Linked DNA regions of Homo sapiens: region 1 is linked to region 2. Evidence: promoter capture Hi-C in 16 types of primary human blood cells and fetal thymus (Javierre and others, 2016). All regions are on one chromosome and are shown on one strand. The core of a region is centred on a gene start or on the middle of the fragment in contact, and the rest is flanking DNA. Distances in the headings are between cores, read along the strand shown. Region 1 overlaps GNL2 (G protein nucleolar 2). Region 2 holds the start of SF3A3 (splicing factor 3a subunit 3).

Region 1 (5,758 bases), core at 1-2,500, 420 kb before region 2:
TATTTTTCACGTTGTGTGTTTCATAGTAGCGCACACCAACTTTTTTCGGCCGTTGCTGTCGTACTGCTCGCCTCCGCTGTAAAAAATGGCAAGAAAAGATGAAGAAAAAAAACAACAAAACCCTGAAAGTCATTCACAAAACAGGAGTCTCTGCTTCTCATCTCTGTGTTCTATTTCCCGTGCTGCTTCCACAGCTACTGGAAGCAGTGCTAATGAGGGAGGGCTCCCCCGTAGACCTAAGGTTACTCTTCCATTGTGACTTATGCAACTCCAAGTTACAAATCCACATGTGATCCAACCCTTAGCCAGTGCAAGAATCTGTTCTGCATCACTCCTGACAAGTCCCCTGCAGCAAGGCTGAGTGCTGCTAACCACTCCCCTCCCCAGAGGGCCCACTCTAGCTCTGAACAGCTCAGCTCCAAAGCTGTCCTTCACAGAAGTCAGTGATCTGCCCAAAGCAGATCTGCTCATTGGGTCGTTTCCCTTGGGACTAGAAACTGACTCCTCTAGAGGATAGTCCACTCGTGTGGAGACGTTGATTAGAAACTCCTAAAACGTATGACATGGACTCAAGGACCTGCATCTAGTGGGCCAGACCCGACCCTATTTATCTGACCTCAACTAGGTCAACGAGGACTGGGGTTCTTGGGATTCAGCTCTGGACCATTTGTTTCAGTGGGTCTTGACAACTGGAGTTCTAGTTACTCTACTTGGGCCATACTTAAAACCTATGACACTTACTTCTTTTGATGTAAGCGCCCTGGGAGCTTTATTTGAATGTTCCTGTTCCTCTTCCCTTTGTGCCTTCCGCTTCTTTCCCTTTTTGGAAGGTGCTGGATACAAACAATACACAAACAGGAATTTTCTATTGAAAATTTGTCTATAAACCCAACGGTGGGAACAAGCTTGATGTATCAGGAGGAGGACACCCAATGTGGACAGAGCAGGTGAGCACAGTGGTGAGTAAAGCAGGCCAAGGGGAGGCTGCCAGGTAAAAGGATGCCCTAAGCCATGCTCTCAGTGTGAAAGCTGATGGTCAAATGGAGGAATGGATAAATGCAGGAAACACACCCCCCTCTTTGTCTGTGGACCCACCCTTGGATTCTAGGTTAATAATGAACCCTTTCTAGGAAGTTTCCTGAATTGCCAATTTAATCCTAAAAAATGTGCAGAATGAAAAGCAGATAATTCAATTTGCATAACACTATGTAAATTTAAAGTAATCTGCCAGATATGACAAACATTTATGTGGATGACTGAGATAATTTGGAGACTGAACTTAGGTTTCTCAAAACTCTAAATATGCAAATTACATCTAAATGATTGAAATAATTTAACTTCACCTCTGTCATCTACATCTTCTTCCAGTGTTTTTCTTTGTTCTTCAGGTTTTGCAAATATCTTTTCACTCAGTCCCTTGGATATTCTGAAACAGAAAAGCAAAGTAACATTCCTCCTCTCACTCGCCCGAATCACATACTGACCTGGAGACCTGCGACAAACTCACAGACTAAAGAAACCCCACTCCTATCCAAGTAGTTATCACCAGTGGAAGAAGTCAACATCCAACATGTTTGTACCTCCCTGGGTGTTTCTAAAGCTTCTCATACTGCAGGCAGCTGAATTTTACAAAATTTACAGTTCACTTTTTAAAAATGGCAATAACAGCCAAGTGTGGTGGTGCACACCTGTAGTCACAGCTACTTAGGAGGCTGAGATGACAGCATTGCTTGAACCCAGGAGAGTGAGGCCAGTCTAGGCAACATAGCGAGACGCCGTCTCAAAAAACAAACAAACAAAAAACCCAACCGAACAAACAAATGGCAATAACCCCATGTAAAAATATGGCTCTGGTACTCATGGCAAATTTTTGGGAAAGGAATGAAAATCTGCAATTTGTGAGAAGATGAAAATATTACCTGACTGCTGAAAACTTTTTGGCTTTGGCTTTGTCTAGAAACTTCTGATATTTGGCAATCTTCTCATCCAGTGCTTTAATAACGGCTTTGGTGTCGTTTCCCACATTTTCCTCCTCAGGCTCCGAGGAAGACTCTTCCGCATCATCTCTTTGTTGCTCCTGTTCCTCCTCCTCTTCATCAGAAAAGCTCTCAAGCTCTTCCTCAAGATCTGACACCTCCACAGGAACCAGGTCATCCCCAGAAAACTGAGGCACCACGTTGATTTTACCAAAGTTCTGCCGAACTCGTGTGAGAATCTGCTGCATCTCTGTGTTAGCATCACAGTGACTGTTCTCTTCTGTTTCTTCCTTAATGATGGATTCTGACCCTTCACCTGCAGTTTCTGTGACTTCCTCCCCTGGATTGTTCTGGGCTGCTTCTGGGACAACTTCCAAAGATGAGGAGGGTAGAAGCTATTAAGGGGTGGAAATGGGGGAAATAAATAGAATCAGAAAATGAAAAATGGAATTTCTGAACTCATATCTTGCTCTTAAACAGTCCTCTTCTCAGGACTAAGGGAAGGTATTGAAAACACCCAAATTTGAGTCATTTCATTAATGTATTTTTAAACCAATGTACATTAAGCCCAGAGATCAGTACTAGGATCAAAGGAATACATGTGTAGTTCCACAGGATGAACCAACTAAGACTATTTAAACCATTAAAACCAACCAATGATTTATCATAGAAAAGCAAGGCTCCCTAGACCTTCCCTAGGGGGCTGCTGATATAAGCACATGCAAAATCAGCACACACAACTACATAAAAATGAAGGCCAGGCTGGATGTTACAGATGAGAACAGTACTAAGAGAGGCATTTGAGGAGGTCCTCTGATTTAAATGTGTCCCCCAAAATTCATATGTTGGAAACTGGTATGGTTTGGCTGTGTCCAAATCTCATCTTGATTTGTAGCTCCCATAATCCCCATGTGTTGTGGGAAGGACCGGGTGGGAGGTAATTGAATTATGGGGGCAGGTCTTTCCCATGCCGCTCCTATGATGAATTAAGTCTCACGAGAGCTGATGGTTTTATAAAGGGCAGTTTCCCTGGACACACACTCTTGCCTGATGCCATGTAAGACATGCCTTTGTTCCTCCTTCACCTTCCGCCATGATTGTGAAACCTCCCCAGCCATGTGGAACTGTGAGTCCATTAAACCTCTTTTTCTTTATAAACTAACCAGTCTCATGTATTTCTTCATAGCAGTATGAAAATGGACTGATACAGAAACTTAATCCCCAATGCAGCAAGTGTTGGTAGGTAAGGCCTAATAAGAGGTAATTAGATCATGAGGGCTCCATCCCCATGAATGGACTAATGGATCTCGGGGATGGGTTCGTTTTTAAGAGTGAGTCTGTTGGCCGGATGTGGTGGCTCACGTCTGTAATCCCAGCACTTTGGGAGGCCAAGGTGGGCAGATCACAAGGTCAGGAGTTCAAGACCAGCTTGGCCAACATGGTGAAACCCCATCTCTACTAAAAATACAAAAATTAGCTGGGCCTGGTGGCATATGCCTGTAGTCCCAGCTACTCAGGAGGCTGAGGCAGGAGAATCACTTGAACCCAGGAAGCAGAGGTTGCAATGAGCCGAGATCGTGCCACTGCACTCCAGCCTGGGCAACAGAGCAAGACTCCGTCTCAAAAAAAAAAAAAAAAAGAGTGAGTTTGTTATAAAAGCAAGTTTGACCCTCTCTTGCTTGCTCTTGTCCTCCCACTTTCCACGATGGGATGACCCTTGTCAGATGCTGGTGCCTTGATACTGGACTTCCCAGCCTCCAGAAACATGAGCCAAAACAATTTCTGTTCATTATAATTACCCAATCTGTAGTATTCTGTTGCATCATCACAAAACAGACTAAGATAGGAGGCATCCTGAAGCAAGAGTATAAGGTAAGGAGGGGGAATTCTGTGATTGAAGAGAGTTCATTAGAGAACTAAGTCTGGGGACCCTGAAATGACTGGCCTGTTTTAGGTAACCGCAAAGATAAGTATGTGCCAAGCTTTCTACTGGTGTTTCACATGTATAATATCATTTTATCCTTGCAACAAAAACTCAGAGAACTTAAAAGTGATGTTCTAAAGTCAAGAGTGGCCGGGCAAATCACTAAATAAGTACAGAACTATAAAATTCAGGAAACCACACACAAAATTTATACATACATTTTTCTAGGAAGGGCAATTTTTGGCTTTCAGTTTCTGAAGGGGTTTCTGCTCTTAACCAAAAAAGAAAAACAGAATCACAGAGTAAGGCATATGAGAGTGAAACTGCCTCCAAAGGGTTGACAAGAAGTATCTGCCAAGTTCTGGACAGAAATACAATTATAATTAAGCACTAATTAGGGGGCACTTTGGCCCATATCCTTGTTGCTAAAAGTTCCTGAACACTAGGTACTGACCATTTGCATCCCCACTGTCCCTATAGATAGGATTTCTGACATTTGGGTCATAAGACTATGTAAGAATTGATATGCACCCCCATTGTTCCTATAGGCAAGATCTCTGACATTAGAATCATAAGGTTTTTGTTTAAGGATTGCTTAAAATGTCTTTTCAGATCCCTAATTCCAGCAACCAGTTTGAAGATCCCCAGAGAAACGGGATCTGCATGAGAACACAGCTTCTTCATCTCCCTGTCCGTGACTTCACCCTGCACTCTTCACCCAACCAATGACCCTCACTCCAGCCCACTCCAAAACCCTTAAAACCCTAACCCCAAACTCCTCGTGGAAATGATTTCAGGATTCCTCCCATCTCCTCCTTTGGTGACCCTACGGTTAAACTTCTTTCTCTGCTGCAACCTGGTGGTGTCTCAGCATATTGACTTGCTGTGTGCATTGGGCAACAAATCTATTATGGTTACAATAGTTCTTAAGAATTATCTGAACTACTTATCTACACTTACTGACTACATACGGAGGAAGGGCTGAAGACAATGCCAGTGTTTCCACACAGGGTCCCAAGACAGCAGTGATACGGACATCCAGAATGACCCTAGAATCCAGCTGCTAACTCAAAACCTCCAATGGCTTCCCACCATGACACCCTCTCCTGGCCCACGACATTCCAGCCACAGTGACCTCCTTTCAGCATCAGGACACACAGAGCATACTCCTGCCCCAGCTGCTCTGGATGTGCTGTTCCCCTTGCCTGGAACATTCTCCCTAGATACTAGCATGGCTCCTGTCTCATATTAAGGGCTCTGCTGAAGTGCCACTGCCTCAGAGGCCTTCCCCGACCACCCCAAAGTACTCCTCATCTCCCCCAAACCCCTTAGCCTGGTTTAGTTTTCCTCACAGCACGCAAGACTTCCTGACATTATATGTTTATCTGCCTACTGTCTCCCTGTGATATAAATGTCACACTTCCTGGCACAGAGCTCCTAAGACCCTTGGAATTTCCCAAGCGATGGGTATCTTTTTTATTGATTACAAGCCCCTTTCCACCACACCTGAGTTTATGCTAATGTGGTGACTCATGGTAGACCCCTAGATAGCTTCAGGATGGGGGATGCGCTGGTCACCAGAAAGACAAAGCACTTGACCACATGGTTGGTGCTTTCAGCCACTCAGAGGAGAGAAGGGAGACCAGAAATTGAGTCTATCACCAACTGCCACAGATTTCATCAGTCATGTCTATGTAATGAAACCTCCATAAAAACCCCTACATGATGGGGTTTGGAAAGCTCTGGGTTGCTGAACACATCAATGTGTGGAGAGGGCATGGAAGCTCTGTGCCTCTCCCCCATACCTTACCCTGTGCACCTCTTCCACTGGCTGTGACTGAGTTTCATCCTTTATCAT
Region 2 (6,034 bases), core at 403-2,902:
TTCAAAAGAGGTATCATATATTATGTAACATCCCTAGTGGAATCTGGAGCACACAGTTCTGCAGTAAACCTCATACCTTATTTACCAAGTGGGATAAATTAAAGACCATAAAAAGCCTATCACAGGTTCGGGCCAGGTTTTACTGTCAAGTGAGATCAGGTCAGATTTTGACACCAAATAATCACCCAAGGGGAAAAAAAGAAAATCCTTGGTTTTCAGAGTATTTTGGGGCTGAGGGCTTGTAATCTGATAATCTCCTGCAAATCAGAAGGTCCAAGTAGGTCTTTTATTCCTTTTTAAACAGGTTTCAAACATACACAAGAGTAAGGAACGTAGTAAAATGAACCTCCATTTATTCATCACCCAGTTTAAATAGCATCTTGTTTTTCTTTTAATAAACTGAACTATTACCAGACAAATGCAGTTTAGTAGTCCAAAACGCTTTAAAGTAGTATCCTGGGAGAAAAACACTAACATACGGGGTGTGTTGTGTGTGTGTGTGTGTGTGTGTATATATATATATATATTTTTTTTTTCATTTAAGGGAAGGATTGTAGCTATGCACCTGAGTCATGGACTCTTCATAACTATTGTTTGCACATCCAAGGGATACAGGATGCTGTAAGAATGGGCACGTGTAAGCCGGCCGCGGTGGCTCAAGCCTGTAATCTCAGCACTTTGGGAGGCCGAGGTAGGTGGATCACGAGGTCAGGAGTTCGAGACCAGCCTGACCAACATGTTTAGTAGAAACTCCGTCTCTACTAAAAATACAAAAATTAGCTGAGCGTGGTGGCGAGCGCCTGTAGTCCCAACTACTCCGGAGGCTGAGGCAGGAGAATCGCTTGAACCCAGGAGGCGGAGGTTGCAGTGAGCCGAGACCGCGCCACTGCACTCCAGCCTAGGCAACAGAGCGAGACTCCGTCCAAAAGAAGAAGAAGAAGAAAAAAAAAAAGGGCACCTTTCTGATTAATGAAGAATGCCCAAGAGTTCCCCATTCAGAGAACTGAGGAAGCACCCTCACGTTCGGCAGCCTGTGGACATCTGTCCAGGCAGAGAGCCCGCGACTGGCCAATCCGGTTACCTTTGGCCAGGGACTCATGCTGAGACACCGCACTTCACTTCCCCTCTCTTTTCCCGCCCTCGCCAACCCAAAGAGAGGCAGACAGCTGGGCACTCACATCTTGCATGGCCCGAGTGCGGTGATCAGAATTGATCTGGTCCCGGAGCTGAAAAAACAAACGGTGACACAAACGCCGTTAGTTTGCGTTCTGGAGTAGAAAAGGCCGCCCGAGGGCGGAGCTTACCCGCTCAGCTTTTACCAGCTGAGGCAGAAAGGCCTCTGGGGCTCCGGACCCCGGGAGGAGGTTACCAAGACCGGAGCTCGGAGAGGGAGCCCGGAGGAAGGCAGGGAGGTTCTGAGGGCCAAAGCAAGCTCTCAGAGGTCAAACACGGGATAGAGGCTCGTGCTCCTGCCGCAGCCTCTGCTCAGGCCCCACTCACCGTGGACTTCTTGGTGAGCATCTCTTTAGCCATGACGTCCATGAGCCGTTCCTTCTCCTCATGATAGCGCCGCTGCTGCTCCAGTATTGTCTCCATCTTCCCTTAGTCGCGGCTTCTCAATTCAGACCACCAACACGGCCGGAAGCAACTCCTGCCGCCCAGCGCGCCTGAGTCCCCACGTTGCGCATCAGGCTGCACCAAAGTTCCGCGAGTGCCGGAAGTGCCCCGGGACTTAAGAAAACAGGAGCACCACAAGGAAGGCCAGTCCATGTTATGGAGATGGCAACAGTGCCACCTGCTGGTGGGAGGTGTGGTGGAGCGATGCCGAGAGGTTCGCAGATGCCTCCAGGGGGCATAGGAAAACCCAAGAACCTGAGGTTCAGCGGACGGCTTCCTGCGGCTTGCTGGGGCCGGCTTGGCGGGCAGGTATCCTGTGTGGACTGCGCGAGCAGTTGGAGTGCGGATGGGAGTTGGGAAACCGGAACTTGAGGACGCAGCTTTCAGCATAAATTATGAGAACGTTTTCTCTTTCTCTGGACCTCAGCGTCTTTCTCAGGAAAATGGGAATAGTGGGGTTTTGCTGGTGGTGTTTTTAAAAAAATTCACATGTGAGGCCGGGCGCGGTAGCTCACGCCTGTAATCCCAACACTTTGGGAGGCCGAGGCGGGCGGATCACTTGAGGTCAGAGGTTCGAGACGACCAGGCTGGCTAACATGGTGAAACCCCGTCTCTACTAAAAACAAACAAACAAAAATTAGCCGGGCGTGATGGCAGGCGCCTGTAGTCCCAGCTACTCCGGAGGCTGAGGCAGGAGAATCGCTTGAACCCGGGAAGCAGAGGTTGCCGTCAGCTGAGATCGTGCCACTGCACTCCAGCCTGGGCGACAGAATGAGACTCAGTCTCAAAAAAAAAAAAAAAAAAGAAATTCACGTGTAGAAACGACTTGTCTATCGGCAGCGAATATGTTAAATAAAATACTGTGCATCCAACGAGATCAGGAGATTGAGACCATCCTGTCTAACACGGTGAAACCCCGTCTCTACTAAAACTGCAAAAAATTAGCCGGGCATGGTGGCGCGCGCCTGTAGTCACAGCTACTCGGGAGGCTGAGGCAGGAGAATCACTTGAACCCAGGAGGCAGAGGTTGCAGTGAGCTGAGATCATGCCACTGCATTCCAGCTTGGGCGACAGAGAGAGACTCCGTCTCAAAAAAAAGTAAAATAAAATAAAATAAAATACTGTGCATCCAAGCAGTGGAAGACCAGCTGTGAAATGACATACAGCCTTAAAAAAAATTCTGTCTATATATCTCCACTTGTAGGTAGAGAAATGCAAACATGTCCATGTGTTCATATGTTCACAGCGGCATTATTCATAATAGACAAAAACTGGATGCAGCCCAAGAGTCCATTAACTGGCAAATGGATAAAGTGTGGTATATCTATACAGTACAATGGAACATTATTCTGCAATAAATGAATACTACAATGATGAACCATGAAAGCATCATGCTAAGTGAAAGAAGCTAGACAGAAAAACAACAGTGTATGTCCAGATAAAACGTCCAGAACGGTGTTAAAAGAAAAACACTGGTGCTTGCTATGGCAGCACATATACTAAAATTGGAACCATACAGAGAAGATTAGCATGGCCCCTGCAAAAAGAAAAAAAAAAAAAAACACCGGTTATTACAGCTTGGTCTTTGCCTTATTTGAACACGGTTTGCATAGTTTGCCATGTTTGATTGGCCAAAACTCGGTGATTGGCAAAGAGTAGGCTATGGTCTGTTTACAACTCCATTTAGGTTATAGTTCACAATGTACAGAGAAACCTTTAGGCTAAATTTAAAATATGTAAGGAGGCAGCTTTAGGCTACAATTGAGTTAACAAAGGCAAATCTATGGAGGCAGAAATATGAGTGGTTGCTTGTGACCGCAGGTGAGATTGGAAGTGATTACAAATGCGCACAAGGAATCCATTTTGGATGGGTAGAAATGTTCTAAAATTGGATTGTGGTGATAGTTGCATAACTCTATTCATTTTATTAAAATTAATTGCTTTGTACTGTTAAAAATGGGTGAATTTTATGGTATATAAATTACACTTCAATAAAACTGTTAAAAACTCTGTATGAACTCATATGGAGAGATGGCCACACAAACTGAAAAAAGCTAGATGCACAAGTGTGTATAAAAATAGATGTGCAAAGAGATTATTTCTGTAAGGATATCCAAGTAACAGTAAACAGTGGTTGTTCCTGAGCAGACAGCCTTGGAGATCTGATATGGGAGATTTTTCTTTGTATACACCCCAAGCACAGCATAAAAAGTTATTCTTAAACATACTTTTTCAATTTAAAAATTAATTTAAAACTGAAAATACATATGTGCACATTTATGTTTAACAAAAAAGAACGAGGAGGACATAATGCATCACATTATTAGTAATTTACCTATTGTTCACTTTTTTCTTTTTTTTCTTTTTCTTTTTTTTTTTGATAGGGTCTCTCTCTGTTGCCCCAGGCTGGAGTGCAGTGGCATAATCATGGCTCACTGCAGCCTCCACCCCTGTGGCCCCCACAGGTGGGTGCCACCACCCTGGTTAATTTTTTATTTTTTTCCCACGCAACAAAAGCCACATTTAAAGTTTTGTTTTGGGAGTCTCGCTCTGTCGCCAGGCTGGAGTGCAGTGGCGCGATCTCAGCTCACGGCAACCTCTACCTCCTGTGTTCAAGCGATTCTCCTGCCTCAGCCTCCTGAGTAGCTGGGATTACAGGTGACTGCCACCACACCTGGCTAGTTTTTGTATTTTTAGTAGAGACGGGCTTTCACTATGTTGGCCAGGCTGGTCCTGAACTCCTGACCTCCGGGTGATCTGCCTGCCTTGGCCTCCCAAAATGCTGGGATTACAGGTGTGAGCCACCGCACACCAAAAAACTGCGAGGTTTTTTGTTTTTTGTTTTTTTTTGAGACAGGGTCTTTCTGTGTCATCCAAGCTGGAGTGCAGTGGCACGATCTTGGCTCACTGCAACCTCTACCTCCTGGGTTCAAGCAATTCTGCCTCAGTCTCCCTAGTAGCTGGGATTACAGGTGCGTGGCACCATGCCCAGCTAATTTTTGTATTTTTAGCAGAGATGGGGTTTTGCTATGTTGGCCAGGCTGGTCTTGAACTCCTGCCCTCAGGGTGATCCGCCCACCTTGGCCTCCCAAAATGCTGGAATTACAGGCATGAGCTACCACACCAAGCCAAGGTTTTTCTTTTTTTTTTGAGACAGGGTCTTGCCAAGCTGGAGTACAGTGGCACAATCTTGGCTCACTGCAGCCTCGACCTCCTGGGCTAAAGCTATCCTCCCACTTCAGCCTCCTGAGTAGCTGGGACTATAGATGTGCGCCACTACACCCTGCTAATTTTTGTATTTTTTGTAGAGATGGGGTTTTTTGCCGTGTTGCCCAGGCTGGTCTCAAACTCCTGGACTCAAGCGATCTTCCTGCCTTGGCCTCCCAAAATGCTGGGATTATAGGCATGAGCCACCAGACCCGCTGTAATTTTTTAAAAATTTTTACTAGAGATGAGGTCTCACAGTGGTGCCCAGGCTTGTCTGCAACTCCTGAGCTCAAGCAATCCTCCTGCCTTGGCCTCCCAAAGTGCTGGGATTATAGGCGTGAGCCACCGCACCCAGCCCAATTTTTCTACAGTAAACATGCATTACTTTTTGTTTTTAAAAGTTTGAAAGCAGGCTGGGTGCAGTGGCTCACGCCTGTAATCCCAGCACTTTGGGAGGCCAAGCTGGGAATTTCGCTTAAAGCCAGGAGTTCTAGAACAGTCTGGGCAACATAGCGAGACCTCATCTCTACAAAAAATAAGAAAATTAGCTGGGCTTGCTGGCATTTGCCCGTACTCCCAGCTACCTGGGAGGCTGAGGCGGGAGGATCACTTGAGCCCAGGGGTTTGAGGTTACAGTGAGCTATAATCTTCAAGCCTGGGTGACACCCTGTCTCAAAAAAGAAAAAAAAAGTTTGAAAAAACGGAGGCTGGGCATGGTGGCTCACGCCTGTAATCCCAGCACTTTGGGAGGCCGAGGCGGCAGATCACGAGGTCAAGAGATCAAGACCATCCTGGCCAACATGGTGAAACCCCTGTCTCTACTAAAAATACAACAAAATTAGCTGGGCATGGTGGCGCACGCCTGTAGTCCCAGCTACTTGAGAGGCTGAGGCAGGAGAATCACTTGAACCCGGCAGGTGGAGGTTGTAGTGAGCCGAGATCGCGCCACTGCACTCCAGCCTGGCGATAGAGTGAGACTCTGTCTCAATAAATAAATAAATATAAAATGGAAATAGTGACCTGTGTTTTGCCCACTCATGAGGGTGTTATGGGGATCTTATTTGTATATCGGAAATTTAAGCAGGACTGCCAAGCTTAGGGAAAGGACCCAGTCACAACTCATCTGGGGCTTTTCCTGGGACATTAGGAAAGAGGTAAAGTAGAAATCTCCATTCAGGGAGTGGGGAGACTCAGCAAATGTTTTTTGTTT

The links. The method cuts DNA at HindIII sites, captures the fragments that hold promoters and counts their contacts. A CHiCAGO score of 5 or more calls a contact.
Region 1: a contact is called between a fragment that was not itself captured here and the fragment with the promoter of SF3A3 in region 2, in 1 of 17 cell types (M2 macrophages). The highest score is 5.4, in M2 macrophages.

What each region holds. Positions count from the first base shown.
Region 1 is chr1:37,566,932-37,572,689 of GRCh38, forward strand. It overlaps GNL2 (G protein nucleolar 2), which reads right to left. Exons shown (of 16, transcript NM_013285.3): 13 at 1,920-2,371; 14 at 1,344-1,426; 15 at 742-833; 16 at 1-76. Among named protein-coding and RNA genes, the nearest start is that of DNALI1, 13 kb to the left of the region's middle. RefSeq lists an enhancer at 1,284-2,483. The HindIII fragment of the contact is 695 bases long and covers 904-1,598 here.
Region 2 is chr1:37,988,370-37,994,403 of GRCh38, forward strand. SF3A3 (splicing factor 3a subunit 3) reads right to left here and starts at 1,653. Exons shown (of 17, transcript NM_006802.4): 1 at 1,501-1,653; 2 at 1,179-1,226. The coding sequence starts at 1,596. It also overlaps the pseudogene RNU6-510P. RefSeq lists enhancers at 905-1,004, 1,705-1,874, 2,266-2,811. The HindIII fragment of the contact is 15,870 bases long and covers 1-5,916 here.